3 separate regions of the Homo sapiens genome follow, and all the other regions are linked to region 3. Evidence: promoter capture Hi-C in 16 types of primary human blood cells and fetal thymus (Javierre and others, 2016). All regions are on one chromosome and are shown on one strand. The core of a region is centred on a gene start or on the middle of the fragment in contact, and the rest is flanking DNA. Distances in the headings are between cores, read along the strand shown. Region 1 overlaps FARSB (phenylalanyl-tRNA synthetase subunit beta). Region 2 overlaps FARSB (phenylalanyl-tRNA synthetase subunit beta). Region 3 holds the start of ACSL3-AS1 (ACSL3 antisense RNA 1).

Region 1 (4,218 bases), core at 942-3,441, 300 kb before region 3:
TTTAAATAGATTAAATATAGGTCAGGCACAGTGGCTCATGCCTGTAATCCCAAAGCTTTGGGAAGCCGAGGTAGGAGGAACACTTGAGGCTAGTAGTTCAAGACCAGCACGGGCAACATAGCAAAACACCACCTCCACAGATTTAAAAATTAGCTAGGTATGGATACATGCCTTTAGTTTCAGCTACTCGGGAGGCTGAGGTGGAGAATTGCCTGAGCCCAGGAGTTCAAGGTTACAATAAGCTATAATCATACCACTGCTCTCCAGCCTAGGCAACAGAGAACCTGTCTCTAAACAAATAAATAAATAAAACCATAAATAAATTAAATATGAATTAATCAGAATTAGGACCAGGAAAAATGTAAATGCAATTAAAATATCACAATGAGGAAAACAGAATACAAATATGTAGGTGCTAAAAAATATATACAGCTGCTATGGGTAGGCTGTAACTACAGTTCTAAACTTTTTATTAACTAAAGCAAATGTGAAAGAAAGCATGTACAGTCATTTCATTCTTCCTATTCCTAAGAAATGCATACCCTGGTACATTAAAAAAAAGCAAAAATTTCCTGCTTTGTCTGTAAAACATATTTCTCCCTGTAAGCTATACGGAATATATTAGCTTCCAACACATGTTACCAGAAGAGTTTTATAAGCAGTGGTGTAACATTATTGTGAGAGTCTGGGCTCTGCATTCAGACCACAAGCACTATTATCTTTTCCCCAGACTACTGCATAACATTCTTAAGCTGGCTTCTGTGCTTCCATTCCTGCCAACCTGTGGCCTATTCTCCATACGGAGTGGTCCTTTAAGATGGAAATCAGACCATGCAACTCCCCTGGTCAAAAATCTGCAAGAGGTTTCCATTAAATTTTGAATAAAATCCATGGCCTACCTGGGGCCCTATGTGATGTGCCCTGACTCCCTCTCTACCCTCAACCCCTGCTGCTTCCGCAGGCTTACTGCACTCCAGCCACACTGGAGGCCACACTGGTCAGCAAGATTTCCATCCTGGGGCCTCCATGCTTACTCTGCTCCTACATTCTTCCTCTAGGTTCACATGTGGCTTCCTTCCTTCCTTCAAGTGTCTGCTCAAATGTTCTCTCCTACAGAGGTTTGCCCTGAACACCCAAGCTAAAACACAGACACTCTTAGATCCTGCACAAGTAACCATAAGACCCTAAATGGAATTGTTAGATTGTGTTTTGAATGAAAAAGAGAACGTCTTTCCCATCACACTCACTATACCAACAAGCTGCTACTCGCCTTCAACTTGGTGCTTCTTAAATATTATTCATTTTCCCCATTGGAGGGCAAGTGCCCAAACCATTCACAAAAACAAAACTACAATGTTAAAAGTTAAAAGGAAATTTAACTTATTGAAATATAATAAACAAACTACTGTTATAGAAAACTTTTCTTAATTTTATCAGTGTATTTTATAGATATGCCTTATTTGCATATTTAAAAACCTACAGAAATACAAAAAATTAAACCTGAATCTGATCAAGCTTCTATATCCAACTACCAATTTACTGGAAATTTAGGGGGCCATTGGAACATATTCAGCAAAATCCTAAATGTAAGAATTCTATAGGACAAATGACTCAGTTTCTTCAACAAACTGAAAGGAAAAGAAAGACGGAAGGATGAGAGGTGCAAGTTGTAGATTAACAGAGACATGAAAAGCATATAAATCAATGTCAATGTATGAACCACATTTGAATCCGAACTCAAACTGTTAAAAAAAAAAATTGATGGGAGGCCAAGATGGGCGGATCACGAGGTCAGGAGATTGAGACCATCCTGGCCAACACGGTGAAACCCCGTCTCTACTAAAAATACAAAAATTAGCTGGGCGCGGCAGCGCGTGCCTGTAGTCCCAGCTACTCGGGAGGCTGAGGCAGGAGAATTGCTTGAACCCAGAAGGCGGAAGTTGCAGTGAGCCAAGATTGCACCACTGCACTCCAGCCTGGCAACAGAGTGAGACTCCATCTCAAAAAAAAAAAAAAAAAAAAAATGACAATTGGGAAAACTAAAACAATGACTGGATATGTGAGGTGATTAAGGAATATTATTGTTAATTTGGAAGGGGTGTGGTAATATTCTGTAAGTTTGTTTATTGTCACTATAATAAAATTTTACATATTTTAGCCAAGTTACATTTTTATCTTGCCCATTCTCCAACATATTTACTATCAAAAAAGAGCCCAAAGTTAAGAATTATGCAGGAGAAGGAAAGGATTTAGACAAGAAACTGAGTTATAGGCCCATGAAGAACTTTACATTTAACTTAACCATAAATATAAACCTCTTAGCCAAATTAATGATGGTAGGACTCACCTGTTGGTAAAGCAAGGTAAAATATAGAATCTGTTAGGTCAAAAGACAGGCACTCTCTTTGATCTTTAAGGTACTTTATGCAGAAAGATTGATTCTTTTTTTTTTTTTTTTTTTTTTTTTTGAGACGGAGTCTCGCTCTGTCGCCCAGGTCGGACTGCGGACTGCAGTGGCGCAATCTCGGCTCACTGCAAGCTCCGCTTCCCGGGTTCACGCCATTCTCCTGCCTCAGCCTCCCGAGTAGCTGGGACTACAGGCGCCCGCCACCGCGCCCGGCTAATTTTTTGTATTTTTAGTAGAGACGGGGTTTCACCTTGTTAGCCAGGATGGTCTCGATCTCCTGACCTCATGATCCACCCGCCTCGGCCTCCCAAGAAAGATTGATTCTTAAGTGTGCTAAGCCACAGCTATTTATAGTGACATTTAATGCATTTCTGATTATTTTCCTTCCACTTATATAAAATAGAAAAGACAGGATGTAAATCCTGAAGAACATAACAGTTACCACATCTTAAGAAATCTATCAAGCTTCACTAGGGGAATACAAGGCGAAGAGAGAGGTGGGGAGCAAGAGCTGAAAAACTACCTATTGGGTACTATGCTCACTACTGGGTGACGGGTTCAGTCACACTCCAAACCTCAACATCATGCAATATACCTTTGTAATTAGACCCACGCATGTACTAACTGAATCTAAAATAAAAGTTGACAAAAGGCCAAGCGAGGTGGCTCACACTTGTCATCCCAGCACTCTGGGAGGCCATGGTGGGTGGATCACTTGAGGCCGGGAGTTCGAGACCAGCCTGTCCAACATGGTAAAACCCCATCTCTATTAAAGTACAAAAATTAGCAAGGTATGGTAGCACACACCTGTAATCCCAGCTACTCGGGAGGCTGGGGCACAAGAATCGCTTGAACCCAAGAGGCGGAGGTTGCAGTGAGCCAAGATCAGGACACTGCACTTCAGCCTGGGCAAGAGAGCGAAGCTCTGTCTCAAAAAATAAATAAAAATAAAATAAAGTTTTTTAAAAAAGTAATCAAGCTAGATAAGTAAAACTGGGAGAAAAAGGTACATTTCGAATAAGCAAAAATCCATTAAGATTTACTGAAAAATCATTCTATGCAAATGAATTTGAATACCTCTTATTAAAAGGAACACCATGGGCAAACTTTAAAAGCAATAGGAAACTAGACCTCAGAAAATAAAATATAACAACTCATTACTACAATCCTTCCAAAATTAGTATAAGGATTCTTCAAAGTTCTGACCCTAAGTATAGATAAAGAATTCATATACTTGATATATATTACCAATTAGTTCTTTAATTAGTCTAGCTCTAATCTACAACATTAGCAGGTGGTTCTATAGATAAACTTTAGAATTTTTAAATTTAGTTTTAAACACTTTTAGAACTTTTAGAATTCTTTTTAGAACTAACCCAGTCCCTTATTTTTGTAGAAGTAAAAACCAAAATCCAAAGAAACTATTTCAAATCAGAATTCAGATATTATTTATAATAGCATTAACCTTCTTTAAAATATAACCTTCCAGTTCTAAGATTCCCCTTGATTCTAGAAGAAGACATGATTTTCTCTAAAATCTAGGTTAAAAAACATACAGACTTGCATATGCAAGAGAAACAGCACAAGAGCTTATCAGTATAAAAGAGAACTATTTAAAGTTATTAATAAGCAAAGATGTTATAATCTTAAAATGCCCTCCCTTTATAGTTAATATCCTAGTCTATAACACAAATCACTTAATACTCAATATTAAAGCAGTATCATTCTCATTTAAATATTCCTAACCTCTAAATGAAACTGCCAATAAACTTAGACAATTACAATAAAAGACATAAGCAGCACAGTCAAGA
Region 2 (4,466 bases), core at 1,394-3,893, 320 kb before region 3:
TTTCAAGCTCCTTCCTCACCCTATAGCCAAACCACACTACACTGTCTGCTGTGTTTCCAAACATACAGCCTGTGTTTCCTATCATTAGTTTGCCTTGCTTCCCCTGTCTCCACCTATTCTTCCAAAGGCCCATCTCACTTTGCAGAAACTCCCTATTGTTTTTCTGGATGCCCTGAAGAAGTTGCACTTTCTTCCTCTTCGGAAACATCAAGACAATCATTTTAACATCTTGGTTTGAGGGTCGGTATGTGGTGGTCTTTTCCCTGGCTGGTTGCTTGACAGCAGCACCTGTGTCCTACTTATCATTGTCTTTTCTGAAGTCTGCCTTATAACTAGGAACTCACACTCTTCTGATAAATAAATATCTAAGGAACTGATTGAAGCAGGAGAAGTCACAATATTAAGATACCAGTTTACAGAAATATTATCCATCTAAAGGTTACACAAAGCATCACATCCACCACAAGCTATGCTCTCATTTACCATTTCAGCTCTTTGCAACCTTTCAAGTATGAAAGAAATTGGACCTCACGTTCAGGACGCAATCTGCATCAAATTTTTATCTAGCTAAACTGTTTAAGAAATAAGATTTCTGAGAAGATTGTGCATGGAAGGAAAAGAAATGCTTCACATCAGCTTACAGGTTGCCATAAGCCTGGATGACCTGGTCTTAAAGCAAAATTCTAGGATGGTAAACTGGTGAATGAGTATATACAGGCACTAAAAAGGCAGACAACACTGGCAAGGATACTGGGAGGCAGAAGCTGTGGGGTCAACATGCATGACCCGGCTCCGGCTTCTTTAACTTGCCTAACCCCAGTTCCCTCACTCATAAAACCGGGCTCGTGGGCTGGATGAACTCCAAAATCCAGTTCTAACATCTAGAACTCCACAAGCATAACAATGTCTGCATTTTATTATTTCTCATGGAAAGTGGGTAAGAAACAACTTCCTGCTTATTTAATCTCTCATTTATTTAAAAAAAAAAAAAGAACCACACACATCTTCAATCTAAAAAAACCCATAGATTTCAGGGTTATTTTCAAAGGAGTCTCAAAATGAAAACAAAAACAAAAATTAAACAACCACCAACAAAAACAATCCCTGAGGACTAATAAATAAAAGAAAAAAACATATTACCCCACCAAATCTCATTACTAACTGTTAAATAACACTTTAAAAGTAAATGTTCTGTTAGAAATTTAAGATGCCAAATAGAGTTATAAAGCACAGTGAGGTAAACGGTAGGAATAAGTGGTGAAATATTTCTCTCAAGTTGTTTCTGGACCTTTCATCTAACAAAATAAATTTAGATTGAAGCTGCAGAAATATGAAAAGCAAAAATTTCAGAGTTCCTTGGATAATGAGAAACTATTAATAGAATATTAGGAGCACATATATACCATTTAGTTAGCCTAGCTTAAACTCTCCAACAAAGATTTTACTGTACTTGGGATTTTATACACGAGGATTCCCACCCTTGCTCTGCAAACTTTATGACTTGATTAACATGTGTGAAATCTTTCAGAATAACTTCTGAGGTTTTTGTTTTTGTTTTCTTTTTTCTTTTGTCTTAAAGCCATCAGACAGGCAGCTTTTGAGTGCAAACCATCACTTTAGGTCTTACCAGCTTCCAGTTAAAACTTCTGGGTTCACCATGTGCTGATGGCTTAAAGGTGCCAGTGATTTAGCCATTTTGATGGCTTAAAGGTGCCAGTAACTAGGGGTTACAGCTCAGTTGGAACGAAAGTATACTGTGCAGCACTTACGAGAGTTCTGAAAAGTGTTTTCTTAAAATGCTGGAGGGAAAGGGGATATTTTCTGGATAATATTGACAATTAATTGAAATAAAACTCTCCCTTTCTTTCTAAAATCCCAAATCAAAACTACCAACTTCATCAAAAACAAGGTGTAGCCTCTTCCTGACACTGTCACTAACTCTGGATTCGGCTCATCTGTCTTACCTTCTGATGCTTTGATCACATATCCCCCCTTGTCTTCACCAGGAGGCACATCGAGCAACTGCATAATTCTGTCCAGCAGCCCATGAATGATCTCAAACCCAGGATTCTTGTTGTAATAAACAGCACAGAGATGTCTGTAGTTTTTTGCACCTACATCTAGAAAAATAAAGGAACTGGTCACAACGCTGTATTAACCATTGCTTAAGAAACTGATTTACCCCAGTACAAACTTAGAAAAAGTCAACAAAAAAGAAAACCAAATATTAAACATTCAGAGAAGGATTCAACCTCACAAATGCAAAATAAGATAAAATAGTCTTTTTTCAGCTCATCAAATTCCCTAAGGTGTTTTATTTGGGGGAAAGAGTGAAAAACCCTCAATGCTGACCAGGGAAAATAAGGCTTCACTGAGGTATAAGTTGGTAAAATTCTTTGTAAACAATTTACCAATATATCAGAGCCTTAAAGCTTCATACTCTCTTATTCATAATATTAATACTACCCAAAGGAAATAATCCTAAATTCAAAAAGGCTTTATGTAGAAAGACATTTACTACAACATTATTTCCAATAGTAAAATTATAAACAACCTATATTAGGGATGGCTACATAAAGTACAGTGCAATCACTCATCAGGATACTAAGCGGCTATTAGAAAGCATCTTTATGATGGTTTATCATAACACAGCAACAGCAAATACTTATCATAGTAAATGAAAATTAAAAAGAGACCACAAGGTTCAAAAAGAGGCAAAACTAAATTACATTGTTTAAAGAACAAACATAGATTGGAAAACTATGAAGCAAGTAAGGTAATGACTATGACCAAAGTTAGGCTAACAATTACCCTAGGTTAAAATGAAGAATCTGTGATGGGGAGGGGTCATATAAGAAGCTTAGGATACTGGCAATGTTCCATTCTTAATGTGGCTGATGGTTACACTAGTGTGTACTTTGTAATATTTTAAAAACTACCTATGTTGAATACATTCTTCACAAAGCATAAAAAAAGCAGAATACTAAAGTTTATGAAGCTATGCTACCACATGGGTGAATCTTGAGGACATTATGCTAAATTAAATAAGCCACTCACAGTAAGACAAATACTGCATGATTCCATTTATATGAAGTATCTAAGTCATGAAACTCGGAGAAACAGAAAGTAGAAAGGTAGCTGCCAGGGGTTGGAGGGAAAGGGAATGGGGAATTGATATTGAATGAGTATAAAAGTTTAGCCATGCAAGATGAAAAGTTCTAGAGACCCACAACAACGTGCACATAGTTAACACTACTGTAACTGTGCACCTCTAAAAGTTTACTAAAAGGGTAGCTCTCATATGTTTTTTACCACAATAATAATAATTTTTTAAAGTATATGAAGAATAGGGCCAGGCAAAACAGCTCATGCCTGTAATCCCAGCGCTTTGGAAGGCCAAGGCAAGAGTTTGAGACCAACCTGGGCAACATAGCAATACCCCATCTCTACAATAATAATAATAATAATAATAAAAAGATGAAAAACAGAATCACAACTACATAAATATAGCCATAAGCCAAAAAACCCCATGAACAGAGAAAAAGACTGAAAAGAAATATACCTAAATGTTAACAGAGGTTATGTTTGGGCAAGGATAATTTTTTCCAACTTTTATTTACTTCCCAGTTTTTCCATGATTAGTATATATTATTCTACTTTGAAAACTAAAACAAACTTACAAACTCAATATTTCATTTTATTTCACTTTATTTTTTGAGATAGGGTCTCGCTCTGTTGCCCACCCTGGCGCAACCACAAATAATATAAAAGTGCACTGCAGCCTCAACTTCCTGGGCTCAAGCAATCCTCCCACCTTAGCCTCCAGGGTAGCTGGGACCATAGGCACACGCCACCACACTCAGCTAATTTTTTAATTTTTTGCAGAGACAAAGTCTCACTCTGTTGCCCAGGCTGGTCTCAAACTCTGGGCTCAAGTGATCCTCCTGCCTCAGCCTCCCAAAGTGCTGGAATTAAGGTGTGAGCCACTGTGCCCAGCTAAAGGCAATATTTTAAAAAAGAATTCCAACAGTCCAAATGAACACTGATAACAAACTGGTACATCCATACAGTAGGATACCACTCAGCAACAAAAAGGAACAAACTGTAGATAGACTTGACAACCTGGATGACTCTCAAAGGCATTACGCTGAAAGAAAGAAGGCTCTCAAAAGGCTACAGACAGTATGAGTCCATTTATATGACATTCTGGAAAAGGCCAAACTTATGGGAACAGAGAACAGATAGTAGTTGTCTGGGATTAGGTATGGGAAAAAAATGCAACTAAAATAAGGCGTTTTTAGGGTGATGGAACTTTTTGATCTTGTAGTGATAATTATAATCATCTAAACCTCTCTCAATTTACAAATCTAATGTGATCTTAAAAAAAATACCAATAGAATTGAAAAAAATTACATAAATGGATTCTAAAGTTCATATAAAAAAACAATAGTGATAGAGGGAGACTA
Region 3 (4,103 bases), core at 1,360-3,859:
GCCAAAATGTGACAGTAATTTGTGGATGTTTAGTCTCATCCTTCAGATGAAACAGAAAATACACTTTCACCAGATTTCTTGCTGTAAATTCCTCCACCTTTTCTTTTTCTTTTTTTTGAGATGGAGTCTCACTCTGTCGCCAGGCTGGAGTGCAGTGGCACAGTCTCAGGTTACTGCAGCCTCTGCCTCCCGGGTTCAAGCAATTCTCCTGCCTTAGCCTCTCGAGTAGCTGGGACTGCAGGCGCATGCCGCCATGCCCGGCTAATTTTTTGTATTTTTAGTAGAGATGGGGTTTCACCCTGTTGGCCAGGATGGTCTTGATCTCCTGACCTTGTGATCCGCCCACCTCGGCCTCCCAGAGTGCTGGGAATATAAACGTGAGCCACCGTGCTAGGCCTCCTACACCTTTTCTTTTAAACAAACATTCCATTTTTGTTGTCACAGGTTTGGATTTACATTGTTTCTTTTGAGGAGCTTTAAAAGAATTATTTTCAAAGTCATTTTGTGTATCTTTTTTGAGTTAGGCAGAAAGTAAATAAAAATCTACACTATTCATGTTATGTAATTTCAGCATTTCAGAGAATGTTTGTCTTTAGATATTTTTGCTTGAGAATAAACGGTACTGCCACTTGTTTGTGCTCTTTTCTTGACATACACCGTAAATCTGACATTCAGTGTGTCATCCTATTTGTATATGTTCTTTTTCACATTGTAAAGCCAAGTGGCCAACAATTAAGAATTTGAAGTCTTAGAAATCAGTTATAATTCCTTCACAATGTGGTAGTCCCAGAGTAACATCTGTAAGTGAAACAAAATAAAAATTTAAATATCTTCATCTTTAAAAATTGGAAATCTTGGGGCATTTAGGGGAGGATGAGTAGGTGTAATGTTGATTAGTATGATAAGATAACTTTAAAAAACATAACACTTATAGACTGTGGATTTAACAGTTTAGGGCTCCTAATGCGTTATTATGATTCATCTCCACATTCAGAGACTTTACATTTGTAGTTAAATGTTTGAATATTTGACTGGCTGCTGCTTTTCCTTTTAGTTGTTACATTATATGCCACTCTAGGAGGTCCAGCCATTGTTCATGCATTAAATGAAACAGAGGTGACCAACATCATTACTAGTAAAGAACTCTTACAAACAAAGTTGAAGGTGAGGACTCTAGTTACTTTCTAACTGTCTGATACTTTAGAATTTTCAGTGTCATGAGCCCTATTATTGATACTTAGTTCTTTTATGACTTTTAAGTCCTTAATCTTTGTGGACTTTTATGAATATCATACTTTATTTTTTCCTTTAGAAAATAAAAAGTAGATTTTGTATATATTCATGTATAAGTAATCCAGAGTTATAAATTGTTAAGATGCCTATGTTTAAATTGAAGAAATTACGACTACTTTTTCTCTTATTGTGCTCATCTATTTTCTAGTTTACTTTTAGTAAATTTGTAATTTTGAAGGGTTATATTTTAAACTAGTAATTTTTATTTTACTTCTGAAGCATTAAGTAATTACAAGTTTTCAGAATTGTTTGGAAGTTAAAAAGGGAGACTTTTAATTATATTACAGTAAAAAGAGTTTCTTTGGTCTCTAGACAACTCCCAGAAATATCTGGGCTATTCTATATGGGGGAAGGAGGAGAAAATTCACATGTAAACTTGTTCAAAAAGAAAATTTTGAACAAGTTTGCATGTGAATTTTCTCCTCCTTCCCCCATATATTTTTATGTAGTCTCTTGAAAATATGAGGGGCTTCTGGTTTCTCTACAGTTTAGGCAACCTGTGTTTACATGCCCGTTTTATAAGGCAGTACCCTTCTTGATCAGGGTTTTACCAAAGGCCAAGGGTACACACAGTGAATCTAATGCTATAAAATAATAATTTAAATTCAGACCAATACTTAATCATCTGTAAAAAGTGATATTATGCCAGTGTACCCTTTCTTCTTTCTTTTTTGAGGCAAGAAATTACTTAATGATTCACCGAATATGGTAAACTAGTATTCTTATTCGCTAAGCTGCTTGAAAAATAATGAACGTGATGAATGTTGGTGTATTTCTAGGATATAGTTTCTTTGGTCCCACGCCTGCGGCACATCATCACTGTTGATGGAAAGCCACCGACCTGGTCCGAGTTCCCCAAGGGCATCATTGTGCATACCATGGCTGCAGTGGAGGCCCTGGGAGCCAAGGCCAGCATGGGTATGTTACACTTTTCTAATTCCTTACCTGTGCTTTCTGGTGACCACATTCTCCAGAATTATGCCAAAGTTTTGATTCTGAGGTTAGCTCAAATGACACATCAGTTTTCTAACATCAGTTAGGAAAACAGGTCCCTCTAGGTATACTTTCATCTTGTCTTTAAAGAAAGTTTTAAGGAAAAATATAAACATTAATTATTAATGTTTTAAAGGTAGTATTTATTTGAAATTTAAAATATTTTACATTCAGTTTTCATTTCTTTTTTATGGTGATAGTTTTGGGTGGTTTAAAGTTAGTTTATAAATAATGACATTTATCTTGTCCTATGTGAATTACCTGTAAGTGTTAACAGAGTGGCTAAACCTGGAGGCCTCCTTTTACTCCCTGTTCCAGTTCTTCCCTTTCCTGAGGTGAAAACCTTACCCTCCAACTAGCACACCTAGGCATGGTGACTCTACAAGTTCCTATTCTCAAAAAAGCGTCAGAAAATGTTAGCTAGTGTACTAGTGTTTAGAGATACTGCAAAAGCTGCTGGGATGCTGGGACTGCATTTCCTCTGTAGTTGGAAACCTAGTAATTAGATGTAAGCATTCACTCAACTCAAATTTTAGGCACCTGGAATTTGAGTGGTAGTGGGATATTTAGATGCAGATATATTGTGGACAGTGGTGTGTAAAAGTCTAGTACTCGAGTTATGTTTGGACTTAGAGATTTGGAAGCTAGAAGCAGTTAGGTTTTAATTATAGCTGTGGGAGTAGGGGGTGAGGTCACCAACAGGGAATGGTGGCTTCAGAGGCTACTAAGGACTAGTCAGAGAGGAAAGAAGAAAATATCTAGTAGTATGTGGTTCCTGGAAGCCAAGGGAAAGGAGATCTTGGTGAGTCATCAGCAGGATCAGGGGCTGCATGCAGAGGTCAGATGACACAAGGATTGTAATTTCCAAGAAGTGGTGGTGTTGGAGAAGGGTGCTGTGCATTGAAGGAGTGAAGGGCTGATTTGGAAGTAAAGACTTCCAAGTGTAAACATTATTTAAGAAATGTATCTTGACTGACAGGAGAGGAAGGGTATTCTATTGGGAGTACATTTAAATAATTTTTTCACACTCATTTAGAAGTTCACATGTAGAGTAGTTCTGGGAGTGGTTCAGACATATCAGCAATGCCAACCATGACCTATTTCTCTTTGTTCTTCTGCTGTGCCACCTCTATAGCTTCTCAGCTGTTGTCCTTAGGCTGGTACTCTTCTGATTTCAAATGGTTCACATCGTGTTTTAATGCAGGACTCTGAGTGTAACCAAGTTAGTCACCATTCTGAAGCAGTGAATAGTTTTTAGCAAACACCTAGATACTCTAGTCCAAAGCTACCTTTATTTCTTAGTTGAATTACTGGGATAATCTTGTCTCCCTGATACCTTTTTTCCCCTTGTAAAGTTAGTTAGCCACACAGCAGCCAAAGTGATCTTTTTTTTCACAGATAATAACATACTCCTGTTCAAAACAACATTGCTTTACATCCAGAACGTAATCCAGAGTTCTTCCCGTGGCCTTTGAGGTCCTATGTGTGGTCCCTGATAGCCACTTGACTATTGTTTCTTGCCACTCTTCCTCTTGCTCACTCTGTTCCAGCCACACTCCTTGCTGGTCTTTAGATATGCTGAGCACATTCCTACCTTTGGGTCTTTGCATTTGCTTATTTCCTTCTAATTAGAACACTCTTCTCCCAGTTCCAGGGTTTCCATGGCTCCCTTCCTCACTTTATTCAGGCCTTTGCTAAACGAAACTCTACAGAGACGGTCTCCAGGCTTTTCCATCCAAATAGCATCTATTGTCATCTTCTCACCTTGTCTTGCTTCAGTTTTCTTCATAGGTTAATCTGTTTGTATATCTCAATAG

The links. The method cuts DNA at HindIII sites, captures the fragments that hold promoters and counts their contacts. A CHiCAGO score of 5 or more calls a contact.
Region 1: a fragment that was not itself captured here is called in contact with the fragment with the promoter of ACSL3-AS1 in region 3 in 1 of 17 cell types (fetal thymus); the score reaches 5.2 in fetal thymus.
Region 2: a contact is called between a fragment that was not itself captured here and the fragment with the promoter of ACSL3-AS1 in region 3, in 1 of 17 cell types (total B cells). The highest score is 6.1, in total B cells.

Annotation. Positions count from the first base shown.
Region 1 is chr2:222,614,544-222,618,761 of GRCh38, forward strand. The region is part of intron 14 of FARSB (phenylalanyl-tRNA synthetase subunit beta); the gene reads right to left. Among named protein-coding and RNA genes, the nearest start is that of FARSB, 39 kb to the right of the region's middle. The HindIII fragment of the contact is 1,357 bases long and covers 1,514-2,870 here.
Region 2 is chr2:222,597,964-222,602,429 of GRCh38, forward strand. FARSB (phenylalanyl-tRNA synthetase subunit beta) reads right to left here. Exons shown (of 17, transcript NM_005687.5): 16 at 1,965-2,120. Among named protein-coding and RNA genes, the nearest start is that of FARSB, 56 kb to the right of the region's middle. The HindIII fragment of the contact is 427 bases long and covers 2,431-2,857 here.
Region 3 is chr2:222,916,992-222,921,094 of GRCh38, forward strand. It overlaps ACSL3-AS1 (ACSL3 antisense RNA 1), which reads right to left and starts at 2,610. Exons shown (of 3, transcript XR_923949.3): 1 at 2,548-2,610; 2 at 2,239-2,368; 3 at 1-798. It overlaps ACSL3 (acyl-CoA synthetase long chain family member 3), which reads left to right. Exons shown (of 17, transcript NM_004457.5): 6 at 1,055-1,164; 7 at 2,073-2,211. The HindIII fragment of the contact is 9,982 bases long and covers 1-4,103 here.